Linked DNA regions of Homo sapiens: all the other regions are linked to region 1. The links are contacts of gene promoters, found by promoter capture Hi-C in blood cells and fetal thymus (Javierre and others, 2016). All regions are on one chromosome and are shown on one strand. The core of a region is centred on a gene start or on the middle of the fragment in contact, and the rest is flanking DNA. Distances in the headings are between cores, read along the strand shown.

The links. Contacts are between HindIII fragments. The CHiCAGO score rates a contact against its expected background, and 5 or more counts as called.
Region 2: a fragment that was not itself captured here is called in contact with the fragment with the promoter of STPG2 in region 1 in 4 of 17 cell types (total B cells, non-activated CD4 T cells, naive B cells and 1 more); the score reaches 8.6 in total B cells.
Region 3: a contact is called between a fragment that was not itself captured here and the fragment with the promoter of STPG2 in region 1, in 4 of 17 cell types (naive CD4 T cells, total B cells, total CD8 T cells and 1 more). The highest score is 7.5, in naive CD4 T cells.

Annotation. Positions count from the first base shown.
Region 1 is chr4:98,141,994-98,144,915 of GRCh38, reverse strand. STPG2 (sperm tail PG-rich repeat containing 2) reads left to right here and starts at 1,440. Exons shown (of 11, transcript NM_174952.3): 1 at 1,440-1,874. The coding sequence starts at 1,766. RefSeq lists an enhancer at 1,614-1,713. The HindIII fragment of the contact is 14,460 bases long and covers 1-2,922 here.
Region 2 is chr4:99,027,632-99,030,553 of GRCh38, reverse strand. It overlaps METAP1 (methionyl aminopeptidase 1), which reads right to left. Exons shown (of 11, transcript NM_015143.3): 2 at 1,636-1,687. Among named protein-coding and RNA genes, the nearest start is that of MIR3684, 32 kb to the right of the region's middle. The HindIII fragment of the contact is 899 bases long and covers 935-1,833 here.
Region 3 is chr4:98,829,957-98,832,878 of GRCh38, reverse strand. The region is part of intron 2 of LOC105377343 (a long non-coding RNA gene); the gene reads left to right. Among named protein-coding and RNA genes, the nearest start is that of EIF4E, 98 kb to the left of the region's middle. The HindIII fragment of the contact is 1,228 bases long and covers 901-2,128 here.

The sequences.
Region 1 (2,922 bases), core at 191-2,690:
ATGTCATAGTAAATATCTAGATCTTCTGAATGGGTATAGGTGGCAGCTTGGAAAATAAGGTTAAAACAACATTGAGAGAATTATGAGGGTTTCTGACAGAATGCAGGGAGAATCGAAGTTGGTGAGATGTTTCCAAAATATTGCAATATTCATTTTCCTACCATTAAAAAAAATCTTTGCCACCTCTCGTTTTGGATTATACGTCTCTTTCCCCATTAGAGAGAGAACACCTGAGGGCAGGGACTTTCTTATGCCTTTGTATCCTCATAACTTAGCAGGGATGGAACCTACAGTATATGCCAATTCGTGTTTTTTAAGTGCATAAATAATTTAGCTAGCTATTGAACAGAAAAAAAGGTACTACAGATACATCCTTGAGAAGCATATAGCCTCGCAAGGAGAGGGTTCCGACCTATATGGCACAATGAAGCCACAGTAAATGTTGCACAGGATTGAGTGGCAAATCGTGTATTACAGAGTATGAAAACTATAAAAACTTGTAGTAGGAACAAATTAACGTACTGTAGACCATTTGGAGGTGAGGTATGATCAAGGTAGGATTTGTCTAAGCCTCTGAGGATATTTATAATCTGGACAGAATTCTTGCTAGAAAAAACAGCCTGCGAGATGCAGAGGTGGATTCTGACATAGATTCCTTAAGCCCCAAGGACAAGCAAGGTTTCTTTTGCCCAAGGTTCAGAATCATTGGTTTGGTGGGGTGGACTGGGCTTTTTCAGTGCCTTCGCTTTGCTTTTTAAATATTGATGAATCAGTATTGTGGTTACCTGGCATACGACAAAAGAGGCAGCTTTCAGTCACTTCCACGGCTTCAGTTGGTGAGCTTTTCGCCTCCTTGCCTGGTGTCCTCATTTCTTTTTTTTTTTTTTTCTTTTTTACCCTTATCTTATTTGTTATTTTTTTTTCTGGGTTCTCCATTTCTTGTCACTGCCCTGAGCCCTGGGTTTGTCTTAGCAGTTTGGACTATCTACAGGTTAAGATCAGAGGTGCCTTTTCTCTGTGAGTACGAGTGGGGCTGCAGTAGAAGCGGGGGAGAGCTTGCGGAACCCCAAGCTCTCTGCTTCATGCTACTGCATTTTTCTTTACTAGGTTCTGTTGAGTCGGGAAGCAGATCAAGGTCAAGTTAGTCCTCACCCTTCCTAACGCGTTTTCTAAGGTTCTTCTGCATACTTAAAAAAGTTCGGGACCTAAGTAGTTACCGGGACCCCAAGAGCTACGAGGTTTAGGCCTGCCTTCTTCAAGGCGCGCCGGGTTCCGGGTAAAAAGAGCCGGGAAAGGGTGGCTGCTCGGTGCGCATGCTCCGAGGGCTCGGCCCAGGAAGGCACCTCCACTTCGCTCCCTAGAGACTGGGCCCGCCTCCTCCCCAGAGACTGGGCCCGCCTCCTCCCCAGGCTTCCGGGCGGAGAGAAGTGGGCGGAGTCAGGGCCGGAAGCACCGGGGCGAGCGTCTAATCCCTAATACCCAATTTTGGTGGCGTGCACCTGGCAAACTGATGATTGTGTGGGACGTCTAATCTCTAGTCGCTCACCCCTCTACTTTACCACAGAGCTAGAAATCGATTTGAGGAAATCTGGTATCAATGAGCGGGCGGGGAGACAACCCCACCCCTAATTTCCCTGTTTACGGAAGTTCTTTCCCGGCCTCCTCAGACTGGTGTCGGCTTCCTTTTTCTCCACACTTCTAGCTACCTTGTTTTTATCGTTTTCGGCACCTGCCCTTCCCCAGCGCCCCCACCACCCCGAGCACTATGTATGATCGGGCTCCCCGCCTGCTCAAATTGGCTGAAGGTGGCAGCACTGAGGCCCATGTGGGTCCTGGATCCTACCAGGTACCTTTCCTGAAGCAGCAGGCGACAGGTAAGATGTAGGAAGAGGCAGAGCTCCTGTGACAGGCATCCTATCTTCAGCCTGCTCCGCTTCTGCGTGCTTGTGAGTTAAACATAGAGCGGAATAGTACCATTTTGTAAACATAACAAAACATGAAGTAGGCAGGGAAAACACTATACTTTTATTTTACAGATGAGACTGATAGTATCACTTGTCCCATTTCAAAAGGCTGGTGAGCATATGGCTAGGACTTTTGATTCCGCAATAGTTGTCTACATCCTACTTTTGATTGTGCAGTTTAGGTCTAGGATTTTGATTTCCTGGCTGTGTTGACATAATATATGAGTCTCCAAATCCTGTGCCCTTACCTCCCGCTGTCTCGTTGCTTTGTAATCCTGCCTGCCTCACATCTTTCCTCCCATTAACCAGAGACATTTATTTATTAAGATGTAGCTTATATTTCTATTTTGCAGTATTATTTAAAGATAGTTCCGTTTTTTTTTCAGACAGATTTTTCTGACCGTCCTCATCTCTTTTAACACACTTCAGGGGAGCCCCTTTTCTCCACATTCTGTAAAGAAAAATTATATTTTTGACCAGTGGAGTGGGGATGGATAATTTAAATAATATTTGCTCTCCTCGTTTGTTTGCAGTTAGTGACTTAGTCAAAAATAAATACATCAATTTTGCTTTCTACTTTTTCTATTCTGGTGATTTTCTGGAGCTTAATACCGTCCAAATGATAGTTTTTCTTAACCTACATTTTCCCCATACCTACACTATGTATTTTCAAGCAAATGCCAGGATCCATTATTCTGTTACATAACTGATCAGATAAGGGAAGGTTTAGGTTTCTTGGGGTGGAGTACAAATTTGACTTCTGTCAGTGTTTCACATGTTGAATTGTACTGCTTCACAGTATCTGGTATCACTATTCTTGCAGCTTATTCTATCTTTATTTTAATGGAGTTGGGCATTATAAGCATTAATTCCCCTAACAATGGCTAACAATGACCCCCTGTGACACTTTGCAATCCTTAATTTTGACATAACTGACCACTTTATTCTTGGAAACACT
Region 2 (2,922 bases), core at 135-2,634, 890 kb before region 1:
GGGTATGAAAGATACAGAGCTGGCCACCTAAGGATGATCTCTATCCATCACAGCCAAAGGGATTAAGAACAGCAGGCTCATCCACTGAAAAAAGTTATCCCAAAAGATCCAACAGAGCAATAGCTACAAGATGGCACCATACTAAACACTAGAGGTGTAAGTAAAAATGCAAATAGCCTAAATCCAGTGTTGTAATAATCACCTTCTTTTTACATAGGGAACACTTGCTGTTTATTCCCTTGTAGTGTAAGTCAAAAGGAAATAGCCCTGCCCCTAAATATCCAGTATTGAAGAAACAGGCACACATCAATGAGTTAGCAAATCTGAGGGAGAGGCCGATTTTAAGCTTTTTTACTAACATATTGTTTAACCTCAACCCTTTATTACTTACCAATGCTTTTAACTTCCTGGGTATAAAATGCTAGTAACTGGCTCAAAGAGCTCTGCAAAATACCTAACACATTAGAAACACAGGATGTATGTAATGCATGAATGAATATAGTTAAGTGAGATTATTTAAATCCATCTCTAAATTTTGACAGAGGTAACAAATCAACAAGTCCTATCTTTTATGCGTTGATAAACTTACACTGAGTCACATCATTTTTCCTCATCTCTAACCACATTTCTCCCACAACAGCCTAGCATGTCCATTAAATGTAGATGTCGCTTTATACAACTACAGAAAATTTGTCTTTTTAAAATTTGTATTTCCCTGTTCCTTCAAATGGTGGTTTGGCTGACCTCAATTAGATTTGTTTTGGTAAAAACACACTACATTCAAACTTCATTAAATCAGCTAACTCCTAAAAAAAAAATACACAAGTAGATGAATATAAGACACCAAGATCAGGTATGTAGAAACAGAAACCTTATACCAAGAACAATGTAAATAAATAACCATGTTATTTCCCACTTCAAATTAAATCAAGCTTTGATCCATCAGGATGGCAATGCTATATAGAACAGAAAGCCCTTGTCAACTTTCAGGCAACTGTGACAGGTTGTCTTAAACCAGCCACGCTAATGACATGAATTTACAGGATAAATTAGCTGGAGCAAAAAAGGCAATGTGAATCTCAGCTACATCAGTGTGGCTGACAGTAATAGCTAAGGAGCAGCTAATAGTTTTACTTTGTAGTGTCACACAAAAAACTTCAAAAAAGAAAATTAAACATAAGACTGCAGGTAATAACATTAAAACACCAAAAAACAAAGTAATATAGTTTTGAGTAGAAAAAGCAATACAAATTGAAACTAAAAGAAACCAAAAGGAATCTGGTTAAATGAAGCCAAATCACTCACATAATCCCTGACTACAATATGCAAACACTTCCAGCAACATAACAGTGTGTCAAAAGATGACAGCATCATCAGGTATGGCTCAAGCAAGATCCATCTATACTAACAACTATCTCATGTTTTCATGTTAAATATGTAATACAAGATTAAGATATTATCCAGACATATTTTATTTACATATCACAAAAATTTAAAATATGTCATAATTCTAGTATTCAGGATTATACTTTCAGAACATTCAAATATACACTTTCAGAACTAGAAGAATTCTTGTTTTCTGGCACAAATGCCACTTCTAAGACAAATGGTGTAAAAATTTGTGATTGTACTTACTTGCTTTCTTATGTAGTAACTTGTGAGTAGCCCAACTTCCTTTAAAACATTCCTAAAAGAACAAAAAAGGAAAATTAGTGTCAGGCCTTCCTTAATAAGAAACATTTTAAGGAATATTGTATATAAGCAAGAGTTATTGTAAACTATTTGCAAAAACCAAGACCTGTAACTTTGCGAATTAAATATTTGGGAAAAGCTTAAGAAATGACACCTGTTCAATATTCACTTCAAAAAGCAACCTAAACTTTATTTCAAATAAGCAAGGAATATTAGGCTAAATGTTATATAATAGTCACAGTTATATTTCAATTTTATGTCAACAAACTATTACGAAGTATTTCAAAAGAATCATTAGACAATTAACCAATCATACACTGGAAAAAAACTGCAAGAAAATTTTTGCAGATTCTTTTATTTACAGTAGTTAGATTCCCAATCAGTCATACACACACTAAAATCACCCATGTAAGTAGTTACTATGTGACACAGCCCTGAGGCCATAAGCTGTGTGAGGGAAGGGATGGTATCAAAGTTTACCACTATTGCTCAGAGCCAAGCAGAGTGCCTGGCATGTGCTAGGGTTTCAGTGAATGCTTGACTGAATGATCAGAATTAATGAGTAACTAGAAAGACTTTTCATTTAGGAAAATATGTTCATGTAACATATTTCAGACACTAGTAAGAAGTGGCAAACTGGGAAAATGAATTCAAGTAATTAATTGAATTCAAGTAAGGAACTCAAGTAATAAAGGAAAAGAATAATTCAAACAGACATAGACTTTATTTATGTTTTGAGGTTGATGGCCTCTCCTTCAAAGAGTTCAAAGTTACTCAAATAAATTATTAAAAATGCTAAGAGAATTCACAAAGTCTTACAAATGTGTTATCTTTGTAGACATAAAACTAGTAAGACACGGACAAGAAGAAAGTTAAGGAAAAAAAAAGCACGGGAAAAAAAAATCCCTAGGACTACGTAGTTAACCAAATCATATTACACTAAAGCTGCCTTCTGTAAAGGTTTGCCCAAGGGACTCTGAAAGATCAGTTTCTCCAACCTCAGCTAGAATCTTCACTACTTTCTCTTTACTCTTTCTGTAGCCTCCACAGCCCGCAACAGTTAAGCAAAGAAAATCCAGGTCATCCCTATCTCTACAACCTACAACCTAAACAAATTCCAAATGTATAAAAAGGTATCTACAGCATTAGAGATTTTTCAGTTTTGAAGCTAAAACTGAGCTCAGTCTTTTGGGGAGGTTGGGTTAGTCTGGTAAGCAGAATAATGGCACT
Region 3 (2,922 bases), core at 265-2,764, 690 kb before region 1:
CCAGCCTGTAGCTACTTTCTTCAACCTCATTTATGCTCTCTTTCTTTTTGTTTTGAAACAGAGTCTCACTTTGTCACCCAGGCTAGAGTGCAGTGGCGTAATCATACCTCATTGCAGCCTCAAACTCCTCAGCCCAAGCAATCTTCCTGCCTCAGCCTCCTGAGTAGTTGGGACTACAGGTGCGTGCCACCATGCCCAGCTGATTTTAAAATATTTTGTGGAGACAAGATCTCCTATGTTGTCCACGCTGGTTTCTAACTCCTGTCTTCAAGTGATCCTCCCACCTTGGCTTCCCAAAGTGTTGGGATTACAGGTATGAGCCATTGCACCTGGCTCCCCCATCTGTGGTCTCTTGATGGGCAGACAATACATTTCATGCAGAAGGAGCAAAAACATGGCTGGATCAACTATACTTTCTGGGTAGGTTACCTGTGTTTTGGAAACATTTTCCAATTATATCAAGTTAGGTAAAATTCCATTCATTTCATCATGAAGCAAATGATACATGAATTCAATATTTTTCCTTTATTCTTTCCTTACAGCTCTTAATTATCTGCACATAATCATTTGGAAATATTTTTATTTATATTTCAATATAAATAGAGTCCTCTGGTTCAAAATTTCAAAAATGGAAAAGGCAACCCAGTAAATGGCCTCCTTCTGTCCACGCCCCCAGTCATCTAGTGCCTGTTGCCAGAGGCCTTCAGAGTTTCCAGTTTCTTGTCTATTCTCTTGGGGAAGGGGCTGGGGAAGGACTTCTTTTGTTCATCCACAAGGTTTACCTGAAAAGTGTTTTTTCCCTAACTCTCCTGGCCTCGGCCCCCATCCCTTTCTCCTCTCCTCAGAAAATAATGAGTTATATGATTGATGAGGGTGGCAGAAAAATTGGTGCACGAAGCTTAGTTATTTCGTGCCCTTCCTTTTTGGAGCAAGGTGACTCCAGCAAACAGACTTTTTGCTCTCCAATCATGTTTAAGCATGGACAAGAGTGGCCCTCACATGGGGAGGGTTGTGGGGGCCCAGCCCAAGTGAATGAGACTGCCTAGTTCTTGGGTTTAGTACTGGGGAATCTACTGTTGGCGCATACCTGAGTTGTGTTCTCTGACATGAGCTTTATCAATAATAAAAGTAATATTTTGAATTCCCATTGCCATTCTTTGTTTTCTATCAACCACAATGTATATAGACACAGAGATATAGACACTTGTAATTTTCCCCTCCTTTCCTTTAAAAAATTAAGTGATGGTGTACTAAATATCTTGCTCTCCATCTAGGAGATCATTTGTTATCAGTACATAGAGTATATTCTCATTTTCCTTTCTGGATGCATGGAATTCCCTTGTGTGGGAAGATCATTATTTAATCAGTCCCATATTAATGAACAGTAAGGCTATTTTCAATGTTTTGGTATTACTAATGTGCTGTAATGAATGACTTTGTACAGATGTCATTTTCCATACATGCAAATATTACCTACCTGACAAAATACAATAATTAGAATTACTGGGTCAGGCTGGGCACAGTGGCACATGCCTGTAATCCCAGCACTTTGGGAGGCCGAGGTGGGTGGATTGCTTGAGCCCAGGAGTTCAAGGCTGCAGTGAGCCATGATTGCATCACTGCATTCCAGCCTGGGTGACACAGCAAGACCCTGTATCTAAAAATGAATGAATGAATGAATGAATGAATGAATGAATGAATGAATAAAATAAAAAGAAAAAAAAGAATTGCTGGGTCAAAAATGTGCATGTGTATTTGGATGCATTTCTGCCTTTGTAATTAGTCCACTGAGCAGTCTACCTTACCATATAACATTATTCAACTGGCTTTATAGTACATTTTAATATCTACTGTAGTATTTTTTAAATGACTTTGTGCTATTTCTTGCTGTTTAAGTCAATCAAAATTGTATAAAATTTATGCACCTAGTTAAGGAGAATTGACATCTTAATGAAGCTATTTCTTCATTATGATGCCTTTTTAGTTATTCAAGGCTCCTTTTGTGTCTCTTAGTAGAGTTTTAAAGTTTTCTTCATAGAGATCTTGAATAATTCTTCTTAATACTTTACCCCCAAGTATTTGTTATTTTAAATTTTTTATTTTTCCTTCTTATTAAAAAATTCAAGCTTACCAGAAAGTTGCAAAAATAGTACAAAGAACTCCCATACTCCTCTTGCTCAGATTCACCAAGTTTTAACATGTTGCCATATTTATTTTATTATCTCTTTCTCAGTATAGATACATTTTTTTCTGACCCATTGGAGAGTATGTTACTTTTATCATGCCCCTTTACCTGTTAATTCTTCCATGTGTATTTCCTACAGACAAAAATATTTCTTATGTTGTAATAATACAGTAATCAAACTCAGGAAATTTAAAATTGCTATATGCTATTATTTAATCTGCAGCCCATATTCCAATCTCATTAATTGTCACAATAATGTCATCTGTAGCAATTTCATTCTTTCTTGGGACAGGATCAGTCGCGGATCATTGGTTATCATGACTCTTCACTCTCTTTAGAGGACGTTCCTCAGTCTCTCTTTGTCTTTCATAAGAATGTCTTTGACTTTCATAAGACATTTTGGAGAAGGCAGGTCAGTTGTTTTATAGAATTTTTTCAGTTTGGGTTTGTCTGATGGTTTCTCATAGTCAGATTCAGGTATGAACTTTTGGCTGGAAAACAATATGAATGCTATTGTGTTCTTGGGGTATCATATTCACAGGCTTATTTATTTCTTATTTTAGCAATATTAATTTTAATAATTAACCCATTTGTTTCTTTTATTATTATTATTATTTTTTTGGACAGAGTCTCACTCTGTTGCCCAGGCTGGAGTGCAGTGGCATGACTGCAGCTCACTGCAACCTCTGCCTCCCAGGTTCAAGTGATTCTCCTGCCTCAGCCTTCCAAGTAGCTGG